Regions from separate parts of the Homo sapiens genome. Here all the other regions are linked to region 1. Evidence: promoter capture Hi-C in human tissues and cell types (Jung and others, 2019). All regions are on one chromosome and are shown on one strand. The core of a region is centred on a gene start or on the middle of the fragment in contact, and the rest is flanking DNA. Distances in the headings are between cores, read along the strand shown. Region 1 holds the start of RRP7A (ribosomal RNA processing 7 homolog A). Region 2 overlaps NDUFA6-DT (NDUFA6 divergent transcript). Region 3 has its middle 8.2 kb from the start of ARFGAP3. Region 4 overlaps TCF20 (transcription factor 20).

Region 1 (3,718 bases), core at 1,219-3,718:
ACATTGTGCTGATAAAGGCCTAGAACCTGATGAGAACTGTGGAGTTTGAATCAGGGCAGATGAACGGCTGTGCTAAGTGCTGTGCTCCAGTCAAGGAGCACAGAAGTGAAGGAGCGGACACTGTCACCTAGGGCAGGGAACGTCTGGATAGATGGGCTCAAGAGTCTTGAATTCTAGGCTGGGTGCAGTGGCTCACACCTGTAATCTCAGCACTTTGGGAGGCCGAGGTGGGCAGATCATCTGAGGTCAGGAGATCAAGACCAGCCTGGCCAACATGGTAAACCCTGTCTCTACTAAAAATACAAAAAAGTAGCTGGGTGTGGTGGCACATGCCTGTAATCCCAGCTACTTGGGAGGCTGAGGCAGGAGAATTGCTTGAACCCGGGAGGTGGAGGTTGCAGTAAGCTGAGATGGCAGCACTGCACTCCAGCCTGGGTGTCAGCAGAGTGAGACTCCGTCTCAAAAAAAAAAAAAAAAAAAAAAAAAAAAGGCTTATGCCTGTAATCCCAGCACTTTGGGAAGCCGAGGTGGGCGGATCACAAGGCCAAGAGATCGAGACTATCCTGGCCAATATGGCGAAGCTCTGTGTCTATCAAAAATAAGAAATTTAGCTGGTCATGGTGGTGCACACCTGTAATCCCAGCTACTCAGGAGGCTGATGCAGGAGAATTGCTTGAACCCAGGAGGCGGAGGTTGCAGTGAGCGGAGATCGCGCCACTGCACTCCAGCCTGGCGACACAGCGAGACTCCATCTCAAAAAAAAAAAAAAAAAAGTGATGTTGTGTGGCCAGTCCTGATATCCATCGAGATGGCTCCTTGAAGCGTGGAAGCAATACATGAGAGGGAGATAACAGAACGATGGTGGCAGGGCACTGAGAAGGAGCCAAAGGCCTCGGGGAGGGGGATGTGCAGGCACAGATTTATTATGCAACATCTGAGAAGCCAGATGACCGTATTTCTGGAGGGTTCACCAGAGACTGCTTTGACTAGTGGGGGGTCTAGGCATCAATGGGCAATCGGCATGGCCGTCCTCTGAGGCCAGGGTAGAAGAGGGCAAATAGGACTGGAGCCGGGCTCGGAAAGGTCAGCAGGAGATAGGATTCCAGAGAGCAGAGGTTCGGTTGATGTGACTGTCAGAACAGGAGCAAGGCCAGAGTGGCTGCCAGGGATCCTGGGCGCACAGGAGTCTCTGGTGAATGCTAGTAGACCACGGTATTCCCAGGGGCCACGGAAGCCCCAACACTGCTTGACTGCGCTAAGCAAAGAAAGATCAAAAACAAAAAACGAGCGAACAGGACAGTAATGGCAGCTGCTGATGGAAAATCCCAACCCCTCATCCAGTTTCCAGGCCTAAGCTAGGCCTCAGAACCAGAGGTCACTGACTGAAAGGGAGGCTGGGTCCCCTCCAGACCACAAATATTTGCAGTAGTAGGCTCCTAATCTTTCCCCAAAGGGGCCGACAGCATTTCCAAGAAGCAACTGTACACTGGGAAAAGAGAAATAGTAGATACATCAAGGGCTGGCGGGTACACAGTCTGAGAGGCCCTTTGGAGTCCAGAAAAGTGGAGTCCTTGGACTTCATTTCTCCCCTATCTACACTTGCTCCCTTGGCGATCACACCCTCTCATAACTTTCTTTTTTTTTCTCTTTCTTTTTTTTTTGAGACAGAGTCTCGCTCTGTTGCCCAGGCTGGATTGCAGTGGGGCGATCTTGGCTAACTGCAATCTCCGCCTCCTGGGTTCAAGCGATTCTCCTGCCTCAGCCTCCCGAGTAGCTGGAATTACAGGCATGCACTACCACGCCCGGCTACTTTTTGTACCTAGTAGACACGGGGTTTCACCATGTTGGCCAGGCTGGTCTGGAACTCCTGACCTCAAGTGATCCGCCCCCCTCGGCCTCCCAAATTGCTGGGATTACAGGCATGAATCACCGCACCCGGCTCCTCTCGTAACTGTCAATAACCTATCCATGGCCAGTCCCGTGTGTATTGCTCCAGGCCTGACATCTCTGATGTTCAGTCTGTTCAGTCTCATATCTAAGTGCCCACCTGACATGTCCCCTGAGTGGCCTAATGGGCATCTCACCACGGCTCACAGAGAACTGATCTACTCCATTTTCACCCCCAAGCAGGCCCCTCTCCTGCAGTCTTCCCATCTCAGTCAATGGCAACACCATCCTCTTAGTTGCTCAGACTGAAAACCTAGCAGCCATCCTGGATTTCTCTCACACTGCCTATTCAACGTGTGAATGCATGAGTGGAAAGCTGAGTTCGCACTCGTGACTGGCCGGGGTCAACTCTGACATTCGCTCCCACTTTCGCGCGCTGATTTATCTCTGAGCGGATGAAGGTTGGGCCATGGCGGGCGGGGCCGGGGAGGCGGGCTTGGAGTGAGGGGGCGGGGCAGGCGCCACGAAAACGCGCTCGCGCCGGCGCCGAACCGCAACTCCCGGCGGCCCCCGCGCTCCCGGGTGGCAAGATGGTGGCGCGCAGGAGGAAGTGCGCCGCGCGGGACCCGGAGGACCGTATCCCCAGCCCACTGGGCTACGCAGGTGAGGGGCTCCGGGACGCGAGACCGGGGGCGGTCAGGCATCGCCGGGAGGTGTTTGGGGGTTGGCGACGGCCGGGGGTCCCCAGGAGCGGCCGCACGGTTGGGTGTGAGCCCCGGTGGCCCGTGGCCCCAGGCTCCGCAGGTCTTGAGGCTCCGGGGTCCCGAGGACCCAGGCGGCGCCCTTCTGCCTGCTCACTCTCCCGGGGCGAGCCCAACTTGGTCCACGCTTCCCTTGGGTGAGCCCGCCTCTGTCCACACTCTCACCCAGGACAAACCCATTTCCGTCCACACCCGCTCGTCCAGGTGAGCCCATCCCCTTCTCATCGCCTCTGCTCCTAGTCCATCCCCCATCAGCTCTTACCTGGGCTGTTATAGGCCCTCCTACTCGGTTGCCCTCCTTCTCCTCTTGCCCCTGCTTCTGTTCTCCACCCACGTGCCAGAATGTTCTTTTAAGGACATTTAGATTCGATCATGTCTGCCGCGCCCACGATAGGCGCCACACCTACTGCATTCCCTCCAGTGGCTTTATCAGGTAGCTTCTAAAACAAAAACCAGACTTCTTAACCTGTGTGGGCCACGTGGTCTGGCTGGTGCCGACCTAAAGCTCTTTCTGTTCCTCTGAGGGAACATGCTTTTTCCCCCCTCTGGGTTTTTGCACGTGCTGTGCCGGTTTGTTGCACAGTGGCGTTCTGGCCTGAGCTTTAATGTTGCTTCCTCAAAGAGGCCATCCGTGATGGCCTATGGAAAGAAGACCTCTGCCACCCCATCACCCTGTAATGTTTCTTTCACAATTGATACAAGTTTGCTGTATGCTTGTTAATTGTCTTCTCCGTTATTGCAACTGAGCTTCCTGAGTTCAGGGACCGCAGCTCTACGCCAACCGGTACTGTGACGGAGGTGTGAGAAAAATAGAAGCAGTTCCTAGCTTTATGAGGATTACAGTCATGGGTGTGCCAGCGATTAACCAAAGAATCTCATCAATATAGCCTCCAGACTGTTAAGAGAAGCTGTGAAGGCACAGGCAGTGGGATCTGAGCTGGCAGGAGGGGCGGAGGTGATGCTAAGGCTCTCCTGAGGAAGCGAGGTTTGAGCTAAACCTGAGGTGAGCGGGAGGGAAGAGGGTGACACGCCAGGTAGAGAGGCCAGCATGTGTGAGGCCCTGGTGTACC
Region 2 (3,718 bases), core at 345-2,844, 410 kb after region 1:
TGGTCTACTTGGTTAATCTTTCTGAAAAAGACTACATTAGAAAGAAAAACAAATGGCTGATAAAAATTAAAGAGTGGGTGGACAAGTATGACCCAGGTGCCTTGGTCATTCCTTTTAGTGGGGCCTTGGAACTCAAGTTGCAAGAATTGAGTGCTGAGGAGAGACAGCAGTATCTGGAAGCGAACATGACACAAAGTGCTTTGCCAAAGATCATTAAGGCTGGGTTTGCAGCACTCCAACTAAAATACTTTTTCACTGCAGGCCCAGATGAAGTGCGTGCACGGACCATCAGGAAAGGGACTAAGGCTCCTCAGGCTGCAGGAAAGATTCACACAGATTTTGAAAAGGGATTCATTATGGCTGAAGTAATGAAATATGAAGATTTTAAAGAGGAAGGTTCTGAAAATGCAGTCAAGGCTGCTGGAAAGTACAGACAACAAGGCAGAAATTATATTGTTGAAGATGGAGATATTATCTTCTTCAAATTTAACACACCTTAACAACTGAAGAAGAAATAAAATTTAGTTACTGCTCAGATAAACATACAACTTCCAAAAGGCATCTGATTTTTTAAAAATTAAAATTTCTGAAAACCAATGGGACAAATAAAGTTGGGGAGATGGGAATCTTTGACAAACAAATTATTTTTGTTTTAAAATTAAAATACTGTGTACCCTCTCCCCCCAATGAAATGCAAGTTCACTAAATGTGAACACCTTTGCTTTTCATGTGATTAAGACCCTACTCCAAATTATAGAAGCTTTTCAAGAACCATGTTACTCTCATGATACTTCATTAATCTCCATCATGTATGCCAAGCCTAACACATTTGACAGTGAGAACAATGTGGCTTGCTCCTTTTTGAATCTACAGATAATGCATGTTTTATAGTACTCCAGATGTCTACACTCAATAAAACATTTGACAAAACCAAATAAAAAAAAAAGAATCCAAACTGCTCCTCGAAAAGATACTGGCCTTTCCCCTTACAAGATGCTCTATGGATTGCCTTATTTACACTCCACTGCTGATGTTCCAAAAACACCAGTTCCTCAGGAATTATATTCTTAGTCTCTCCCCTACTTTCTCTTTTCTTAAAACCAAAGGTCTCCTAGCACAGGCTCTGCCTCTGGAGTTCCCAGTACATCAACATCAGCCTGGGGATCACGTCCTTATCAAGAGCTGAAAAGAGGAGAAACTTGAGCCAGCCTGGGAAGGACCTTACCTGGTGCTTCTAACCACTGAAACTGCAGTCCGGACAGCAGAAAAAGGATAGACCCATCACACCTGAGTCAAGAAAGCACTGTCACCTCCAGAGTCATGGGCCATTATCCCAGGGGAAAACCCCCTCAAACTAAAGCTAAGAAAAGTTTAACTCTCTTTCGTCTACTCTATTACTCTTTCTTCTTTCCTCATTCTGTTGCTGACCACCTTGTTATCAATGTGACTAAATCAAACTCACCCCAAGTTATTATGTTTGATGCCTGTTTAGTCATACCCTGTAGAGATCTCCAAAGTCAAAGGCAACTCTCAGCCTTAGAAAAGTATCTCTGCCACTTTAAAATAAAAGGCTCCCGCTACCAAGACTCTTGCTCCTCATAAAATATAGGGAAACAGGTCTGCCATAGCTGGAATGATGTTCTGTGGACAACTGAGTATCAAGGCTGGACCTCATCAACATGTGGCTGTATATACTTAAAATCATACATTCACTTTACTAAAGGAAGCACCCCTCCCCTCGATTTTCAGTATAACCAGTGTAATCCAGTGCAGATTTCTACTCTCACTCCGGCCTCTACCGACCCTCTAGACCTACTTTGAGTCGCTTCTATGGCATAGGGACCAACGCGGCACAGACCTCATAGGGTCTTTTGAAATGCGTTTTATTAATCCCTCATCCTCTTCACCCTCTTCCCTCTCTTCTCCTTCTAAGCCTTCTTCTAATCAGACTGCCATACCTTCTATACCCAATGATAAGACTAAAGTAGATATTGTAGAAGTAAATGATCTAAGGCAAACTTTAGCAATTGAAACAAAATATCAAGATGCAAATGCCTGGTTGGAATGGACCAAATATTCTGTCCGCACATGAAACAAAAGCAATTGTTATGCTTGTGCTCACGGCCAGCCAGAGACCCAGATAGACCCCTTTACACTCGGCTGGTCCCCCAGTCAACCAGGCATGGGCAGCATGGTAGCTCTCTTCCAGGATTCCATAGCTTGGGGCAATCAATCATGCCAAGCTCTCTCTTTGCTCTATCCCAAAGTTCAATATCCTGCGGGTCAGCCCCAGAGGGCCATCCAGCTTCTGGCTCCCAATGTCAATTTCACGTCCTGTCTCTCACGACAAGGGGAAAACTTGGTGTTCCTTGGAAGCTTAACAGGATGCAGTGAGCTTAAGCCTTTCCAAGAGCTTACCCATCAGTCTGCCCTTAGTCATCCTCAAGAAGATGTATGGTGGTATTGTGGCGGACCCTTACTGGACACTCTGCCAAGTAACTGGAGTGGTACCTGCACTCTTGTCCATTTGGCTATCCCTTTCACCCTGGCGTTTCATCAGCCAGAAAAAGAAAAGCCACAACACCATAAAATAAGAGAAGCCCCTTATAGGTTTTTTGACTCTCAAGTTTATTTAGATGCAACTGGAGTCCCATGGGGAGTACCTGATAAATTAAAAGCCCGGGACCAAATAGTCTGCAGGATTTGAATCAATATTTCCATGGGTAACTATTAATAAAAATGTAGACTGTATAAATTACATCTATTATAACCAACAGCAGTTTATTAATTATACCAGGGATGCTGTCAAAGGAATAGCTGAGGAGTTAGGGCTGACTAGCCAGATGGCTTAGGAAAACAGAATGGCCCTAGGCATGATACTAGCTGAAAAAGGTAGAGTTTGTGTTATGATTAAAACTCAGTGTCGTACCTTCATCCCAAACCATACTGCCCCAGATGGGAGCATAACAAAAGCCTTACAAGGACTTACCATTTTATCTAATGAATTAGCTAAAAATTCTGGAGTCAATAACCCTTCTTCAGGATGGCTAGACAGGTGGTTTGGTAAATAGAAAGGAATCATAGCCTCAATTCTTACTTCTCTTGCAGTCATAATAGGTGTACTCATTCTTGTTGGGTGTTGTGTCACACCATGCAACCATGGGCTAGTACAAAGGCTTATAGAAACAGCACTTACTAAAATCTCCCTTAGCTCTCCTCCACCTTATTCAGATAAGCGTTTCCTTTCAGACGATCAAGTCAAACAGCAAAGCCAAGACATCTTAAAAAGGTTTGAAGAGGAAGAACTATAAAAATTAAAAGGGGGAAATTGTAGGATACAATAAAATTCTTCAAAGGTTTAGCCTGTTAACTTCCTTGTTCTTTGTTCTCAAACTCAACTTTCTTGTTCTCTATGCCTCCTTGCCCCTAGTTACTGTAACTGTAAACAACTTTCCTGTCAGTCCTAATCAATAACTCACATCTGTTCCCTTGGTTACCCACTCTTCACCCGTTCCTCCCTTTGAAACCGCACATCCCACCATTGTAACTCACATTTCCCTTCCCTTCCTTATTTGGGAAAGTATTCACAAATAGCCAATTGGGTCAGTTTAGATTGTGCGGTCCAACCACAGCCCATGGAGGAATGACAAAGAGGCAGGGACTGCATTAGGAATAAAAACCCCTGCTTTCCTTTGTTCAGTGTGCTCTTGCAATCGTG
Region 3 (3,718 bases), core at 569-3,068, 350 kb before region 1:
ACTGTGTGTGAGACTCAGCGGTGCCAGGACAAACATGAAGAGAAGCCAATCTTGCCCTTGGGAAACTCTGGTAGGCTCAGAGAAGGACCTGTGTTATTCTGACACCATGATGGGACAGCCAGAGACAAAGGGCCAGAGTTGTCTTCTGAGAATGTGTGTGCTGGGTTTCAGAAGTCTCAGGCCTCCCAACCCAGGCTCCAAGGCCTCAGAGATCAGAGCACTGCTCAGTCCTTGAGCCGTTCCCCAACTTCCTGTAGGAAGTGTCCCTGAGTCCCCACCTGGGCAGGAGGCTGGACCACAGACAAACGGAAAATGCCTGAGCTTCATTTGCTGAAAAGTAGGGATGACTGGCGGGCACAGTGGCTCATGCCTGTAATCCCAGCAGTTTGGGAGGCTGAGGCGGGTGGATCACCTGAGATCAGGAGTTCGAGACCAGCCTGGCCAACATGGTAAAACCCTGTTTCTACTAAAAATACAAAAAATTAGCCGGGCATGGTGGTGGGCACCTGTAATCACAGCTACTTGGGAGGCTGAGGCAGGAGAATCGTGTGAACCCGGGAGGCGGGGGTTACAGTAAGTCAAGATTGCACCACTGCACTCCAGTCTGGGAAATAAGAGCAAAACTCTGTCTCAAAACAATGACAACAAAAAAACAGGGGTGATGAAGTGAGGATAACTTAAGGGGTGCTCAGAAGCCAAAGACCCTGCCAGGTGGGCACCCCAGCCTGTGGGTGCCCTGTAAGCTTTCCTTCCCCCACCCCTTTTCACAGTCCAAGGTCTCCCCAGAGTGGTGGCTGTCCGCTCTGCTCCCCTCCCTTGTCCACCCTTCCTGAAGCCTCCTCTGAGGCAGGGAAGGTCTGCGCCCCTCCCCAGCCCTTCCACAGACACCTGTGGAAGACAAAGGCCACTCTCTGGGCCTCGGTTTTCCGAATAAATGGGCTGCATCTCTGTGGCCCCTGTGGTGGCAGCAAGCAGAGGGGCCCTCAGGCCAGGACGGAGTCAGCTCCAGGTGCCAGCCAGTGAAAAGAACCAGGGTCAGGATGGAGGTGGCTCCACCACACCTGGGAGGATGTGCCCAAACTGAGCTAAATCTGGCCTCGCCTGCAGTTGAGGTACGAGGCTCATTTCTGGCCAGGCATGACCACCACCAGGCACAGGGTCGGAGGAACCACAGTGCTCATCCTCCCTCTAGCCTGGGTATGTGGCACTAAACCAAAAAGAAAAAAGAAAACGCAACAAATCTGGGACTATCCTATGAAACCCAGATTATATTGTTCTAGGCATCTACAAATCCTTTGTGGAAAGGGCTAGGAAAGGAAGGAAGGAAGAAAGAAATGAACTAAATAAGTGATGTCACTCTTAGGGGAAAGGATACCAGCACCAACGGCCAGTGGACCAAAACTCAGACGCCAGAGGAATACTAGGTGCTAGACCTCCCGAAGGTTGCAGAAACCCAGAGCGCCTTAGGGTTAGGGTTAGGGTTAGGGTTAGGGTACGAGGACCTAAAAGACCCTGAGCTCAACAGCATTCGGATCACCAAGGCAGCCGCCTCAGGGCATGTGAACTACATACAGTCACTGGCCGCTTCTGGGCAAAGACAGCCAGGTGGCCCTGCCACTTTATGGTATTTTCCAATAGGAATCTTAATTATTTTTTCCTGATTGTAAAAGGAACAAAGGCTCAGATGAAAATTTGGAAATTTAGTAAAGGTATTCAGAAAAACATTAGTTATCTGTGATCCTGACTTCCAGAGGTTACATTGCTAACATTGGGGTGTATTTTTTTCTGGTATTTTTCCTAACATATATGCACATGTGCCATTTTCTTTTTTTCTTTTCTTTTCTTGAGGTGGAATTTCACTCTCGTTGCCCAAGGCTGGAGTGCAATGGCACAATCTCGGCTCCCTGTGCCCCCCACCTCTCAGGTTCAACAATTCTCCTGCCTCAGCCTCCCGAGTAGCTGGGATTACAGGTGTGAGCCACCACGCCCAGCCACATGTGCTGTTTTCTTGTCGTCATCATCATCATCAATGTGTGTATGTGTCTTACAAAATTGGGATCGTACTGTAAATATAGTTTCGTTCTCCTGCCATTTGATCATGAGCATTTTCTCATGTCCCTAAATATACTTCAATTAAAAATAAACACCAGACATAGTGGCTCATACGTGTAATGCCAGCACTTTGGGAGGCCGAGGTGGGAGGATCACTTGAGCCCAGGAGTTCTAATCCAGCTTGGGTAACACAGGGACACCCTGTCTCTACCAAAAATAAAAAAAAAATTAGCCAGGCATGGTAGCACACACCTGTAGTTCCAGCTACTCAGGAGGCTGAGGTGGGAGGATCACTATAGCCTGAGAGGTCAAGGCTGCCGTGAGCCATGATTGCACCACTGCACTCCCGCCTGGGAAACAGAGCAAGACCCTGTCTCAAAAAAAGAAGTGAAAGAAGTAGAGGAGGTGGAAGGAGCAACAGGAAAGGCTGGCACACTCAAGTGTAACTTTTATTGAAAAAAATCTGGCTGGGCATGGTGGGTCATACCTGTAATCCCAGCACTTTGGGAGGCCGAGGTGGGAGGATGAGGTCAGGAGTTGGAGACCAGCCTAGCCAACATGGTGAAACCCCGTCTCTACTAAAAATACAAAAATTAGCCAGGCATGGTGGCACACACCTGTAATCCCAGCTACTTGGGAGGCTGAGGCAGGAGAATTGCTTGAACCTGGGAGGTAGAGGTTGCAGTGAGCTGAGATCGTGCTACCACACTCCAGCCTGGGTGACAGAGCAAGACTCCATCTCAGAAAAAAAAAAGAAAAAAATCCACATGTAAGTGGACCCATGTAGTTCAAGCTCAAGTTGTTCATGCGTGAAGTGTACTGTTTAGTGGCCGAATGATACTCATGCTGTAAGTCCCATGTTGCTGAGCATTTGCTTTGTTTCCCATTTTTCTCAGTTCTTAAGGTATAATTTATGTATATACTTTTTTTGTTGTTGTTGAGATGGAGTCTCCCTCTGTTGCCCAGGCTGGAGTACAGTGATGCCATCTTGGCTCACTGCAACCTCTGCCTCCTGGGTTCAAGCGATTCTCCTGCCTCAGCCTCTTGAGTAGCTGGGACTACAGGCACCCACCACCATGCCCAGCTAATTTTTGTATTTTTAGTAGAGGGGGGTTTCACCATGTTGGTCAGACTGGTCTCGAACTCCTGACCTCATGATCCACCCACCTCAGCCTCCCAAAATGCTGGGATTACAAGCGTGAGCCACTGCGCCAGGCCAAAAACACTCCTTTTAGTGTACAGTTCTTGAAGTTTTGATGAATGTATACAGTTATGTAATGTACTAGTCCATTCTCATGCTGCCACAAAGAACTTGCTCAAGACTGGGTAATTTATAAAGGAAAAAGGTTTAATTGACTCACACATCTGCATGGCTGGGGAAGCCTCAGGAAACTTATAATCATAGCAGAAGGGGCAGCAAACACATCCTTCTTCACATGGCAGCAGGAAAGAGACATGCTGAGCAAAGGGGGGAAAACCCCTTATAAAACCATAAGAACTCATGAGAATTTACTCACTATCATGAGAACAGCATGGGGGTAACTGCCCCCATGATTCAGTTACCTCCCACCAGGTTCCTTTCCTGACACATGAGGATTATGGGAACTACAATTCAAGATGAGATTTGAGTGGGACACAGCCAAACCGTATCACATAACCATCACCA
Region 4 (3,718 bases), core at 685-3,184, 340 kb after region 1:
TCCCTGAGTGTTGCTGATGCTGCTGTTCCAGGGGACCACACTTCAAAAACCACTGAACTAAACTGTCTTTAAGGATCTTTCTCTAAGTCCCTAATACAGCCTGAGAGTCTTTCCCCTTTGGATGCAATGTTATAAATTAATCATAGTGGAGTTTGCACACTGCTTGCCAGGTTGTGGAGTTGAGGTAGGAAGCAAATGGACATTGTTCAGATCTAAGCTCCACGTCTTCTCTTTCCTCTTGTAAACCGGGATGGTGATGAGGCCTGCTGTGTGGTTGCTTTTCATGAGATGGTCTTTGTAGATTATCTAGCATATGTCTGACACATGGTCATCTTGGGTCACATTTACTTAGCACTTTTGACCCAGCCACTGTTTTAAGCCTGAATTAATTCATTTAACCCTTATGACATTTCTATGAGGTGAGTGCTATTATTAGTCCCACGTCTGTAGGTTGAGGAACAGAGGTTAGGAGTTTGGCCAAGAAGGCAGAGCTAGAAAGTGGAGCCACTTACCAGGCAGTTATTTAGGTTCCAGAGCATGCATACTTAACCCTTCTACAGCAGCACCCAAGTTTCCTGTAACAAGGCTAGAGGTGGCCTGGTCCTGGGTTTGGGTGATTTAGTGCTTGACAGTGTCATGGTAGGCCCAGGTCTCTCCATCTTGCCACTCTTCTGTCCTCAGCAGGCTGGCTTTGTCTTCAGGGCTGTCCCCTCATGGTGATACTGTGGCTGCCACAGATCCCACTGTCTAATCCTCACAGAGGCTGCGCAAGAAAAATTACCTGTTCCTCCCTCTTGTCTCTTTTTGAGAGGGTGAAACTTTCATGCTTGTAATCTTAGCACTTTTGGAGGCTGAGATGGGAGAATTGCTTGAGCCCAGGAGTTCAAGGACAGCCTGGGCAACATAGTGAGACCCTGTCTCTACAAAAACATTTTTTGAAAAAGCTGGATGTGGTAGCACACACCCTGTAGTCTCAGCTACTCGGGAGGCTGAGGTCAGGAGAATCACCTGAGCCTGGGAGGTAGAGACTGCAGTGAGCCATGATTGTGCCACTGCACTCCATCCTGGGTGACAGAGCAAGACATCGTCTCAAAATATATTAAAAAAAAAAAAAAAAAGGTTGGGGGGAGTGCAAAATGTTTTCAGAAGCCCTTTTTCCTGCAGACTTTCCTACCAGAAATGCTTGACCATACCCATTCCTAAATGGCCACCACTCACTGTGATTCATCCCCCAGGGTAGGGAGGGCCATATCTTCGGGCCTCTTGAGTAAGAAAGTGGCAGCAGGAGGCCAGATGCGATGAGGTCAGGAGTTTGAGACCAGCTTGGCCAATATGCAAAACCCCATCTCTACTAAAAATACAAAAATTAGCCTGGCGTGGTGGCATACGCCTGTAATCCCAGCTACTCAGGAGGCTGAGGCAGGAGAATGGCTTGAAACTGGGAGGCAGAGGTTGCAGTGAGCCAAGATTGCGCTACTGCACTCCAGCCTGGGCGACAAAGCAAGACTCCATCTCAAAAAAAGAAAGTGGCAGCAGACATGGCTGCAGGTTGGCCACCGATGGACTACCCACACTCCCTTCTCTGAAGTTGATAGTCCTTTTGATTCTGAGATGCTCTGTGGCACTGACAAAGGTCGACAGAGTCTAGGGCTACTAGAAATGCTGTGAACTTGTCCTTGGTTTACTCCAGACCAAATGATCTTTTCTCTCTTAACAAGGGTGCGAGGGCACATGATAAACATTTACTGATTATGGGCACCCAGAAGGACCTTGATCTTCTGAGAGCAGGGCAAAGCTTTTGAAGGACTAATCTCTTCCAGCCCTTGTTCCTACCTCTTTTGTCTCTGGAGGATGCCAGAGATGATCATCCAGAATCTCAGCTCTGACCTGGAACAAGTTATTTTCCCTTTGGTGTCTCAAGAGTTTCACGTGAAGCATTAGGAGTGCCTGCCAGGTGGAATAGTGCAGAGGGCTGGATGAGATCATTCAGTCTGAGCGTGGCGAGCGCTTGGGCTTTGCTGTTGCTGGCGTTAGTGTAGTTTTCCATCAGTATCTGTGTCGGGGGCCTGAGCCAGCTCAGTGTAATTGCTTAGGGAACACTTTTATTTTTCATAGAAGCAGGAACAAGTTTCTGTCTCTTCCAGCTAGTCTTGCTGGTTGTGTGCCTCTGCTATCTGAAGAGCCAGCATCCTTAGTAGGGTCACATGTGGTTGAGTTTTATGAATGTGTTTGTTGCTGATAGGACACATTTCTTACCTGACAGGATGAGCACTCACAGCAGCCACATCACAGGGCTGACAGAGATGTGCCCCACTTTAAGAAAACCTGACCATATAAGGAGGAGTGTCTCAATTACAAAATAATGTCTCACTTAGCCAGAAATTCATGGCAGGTTTTCTGGTGCATTTAAAATAAGATTCATGTATAAAAATACCATTTGCACACAGGAGCCCATATTTTCTGAAAAGGGAAATGTATTGGGCATTTGGGGTAAGTAGATCAAAAATAAAAATAAAATCTTCTTACAAATACAAGAACTAGAAACCAAATTCCACTTCTAATTCTAAAAGGTTTATATATAACTCTACTACCTTACCCTCTCTTACCCCAGATTTTCACAGCAGAAGTAAACAGGGAAGATCTGCAGGCCGCTCACGATAGCAGCAAGGAAATGCCTGGCATAGTGTGTGGGTGGGTGGATGGCGGGGGTACCAGAGGCAGGGCTGGGGACCCCACTCTGGCATGTCCTTTATGACATGGATTGCTCATCTCACCCTGCTGTATTGTTGATTTGAGAACATTTGTGAGGCTTGGTCTAAAACATTATTGCTGGATCCCTTCCCATGGTGTGGTCAGTGAATGGCATTTAGAAATTGACCAGCTCATCCTGCCACCACGGACTCCTCTAACCACAGAGACACGTGCTGAGGTCTAACAGATGGGGACCAGGGAAGGCCTGGAGGAGAGGGCCAAATCTGGGATACTGACATGCCTGACTTTTCCCTTCCTTTCAGAAATGTTCCCACTGCCAGGAGGCAGGCGCCACCTTGGGCTGCTACAACAAAGGCTGCTCCTTCCGATACCATTACCCGTGTGCCATTGATGCAGGTAAGAGGAGACCACAGACCCTTGTCCAGAGCATCCAAAGGATTAGGACATACAGTTTGATTCTCTCTGTTGTCGTTGTTTTTTTTCTTTTCTTTTCTTTTTTTTTTTTTTTTTTTTTGTCACTTCATAAAAAAACTTCCCACCCATTAGCAGCACTCATCTCCCTTCCCTTCCCTCCAGTCCCTGGCAACCACTATTCTGTTTTCTTTTTTAAATTTTTATGATTTTTTTTTCCCTTTAAGCTCTGTTGGACTCAATCCTTTCTATCTCTGTGGGCTTTGCTGTACATTTGGGTTACTTCCACTTTTTGACTGTTATGAATAATGCTGCTATAGAACATTCACATGCAAGCATTTGTGTGAACATGTTTTCAGTTCTCTTGGATGTGTACCTGGGAGTAGAATTGCTGGATCATATGGTAACTCTGTTTAACCTTTTAAGGAACTGTCAGACTGTTTTCCAAAATGGCTGCCCCATTTTACGTTCTCAGTGGCAGTGCATGAGTGTTCTCCTTTCCCCAGGTCCTCCCTGACACTTGCTGTCATATGTGTTTCTTTTTTTTTTTTTTTTTAATTGTAGCCAGCCCAGTGGGTATGAAATGTTATTTCAT

What was found. Contacts are between HindIII fragments. The study calls those that stand out against the background at their distance.
Region 2: a contact is called between a fragment that was not itself captured here and the fragment with the promoter of RRP7A in region 1, in 1 of the 25 tissues and cell types used here (lymphoblastoid cells).
Region 3: a fragment that was not itself captured here is called in contact with the fragment with the promoter of RRP7A in region 1 in 1 of the 25 tissues and cell types used here (thymus).
Region 4: a fragment that was not itself captured here is called in contact with the fragment with the promoter of RRP7A in region 1 in 1 of the 25 tissues and cell types used here (dorsolateral prefrontal cortex).

Annotation. Positions count from the first base shown.
Region 1 is chr22:42,518,546-42,522,263 of GRCh38, reverse strand. RRP7A (ribosomal RNA processing 7 homolog A) reads left to right here and starts at 2,468. Exons shown (of 7, transcript NM_015703.5): 1 at 2,468-2,550. The coding sequence starts at 2,478. It overlaps LOC124900479 (a long non-coding RNA gene), which reads right to left. Exons shown (of 3, transcript XR_007068117.1): 1 at 2,911-3,718. RefSeq lists enhancers at 1,267-1,561, 2,087-2,146 and silencers at 2,327-2,386, 2,407-2,576, 2,587-2,716. The HindIII fragment of the contact is 27,172 bases long and covers 1-3,718 here.
Region 2 is chr22:42,104,565-42,108,282 of GRCh38, reverse strand. The region is part of intron 3 of NDUFA6-DT (NDUFA6 divergent transcript); the gene reads right to left. It also overlaps the pseudogene OLA1P1. Among named protein-coding and RNA genes, the nearest start is that of NDUFA6-DT, 15 kb to the right of the region's middle. The HindIII fragment of the contact is 5,344 bases long and covers 1-3,718 here.
Region 3 is chr22:42,863,587-42,867,304 of GRCh38, reverse strand. No RefSeq gene overlaps it. Among named protein-coding and RNA genes, the nearest start is that of ARFGAP3, 8.2 kb to the right of the region's middle. The HindIII fragment of the contact is 6,267 bases long and covers 1-3,718 here.
Region 4 is chr22:42,178,999-42,182,716 of GRCh38, reverse strand. It overlaps TCF20 (transcription factor 20), which reads left to right. Exons shown (of 6, transcript NM_001378418.1): 3 at 3,015-3,108. Among named protein-coding and RNA genes, the nearest start is that of CYP2D6, 50 kb to the right of the region's middle. The HindIII fragment of the contact is 4,379 bases long and covers 1-3,718 here.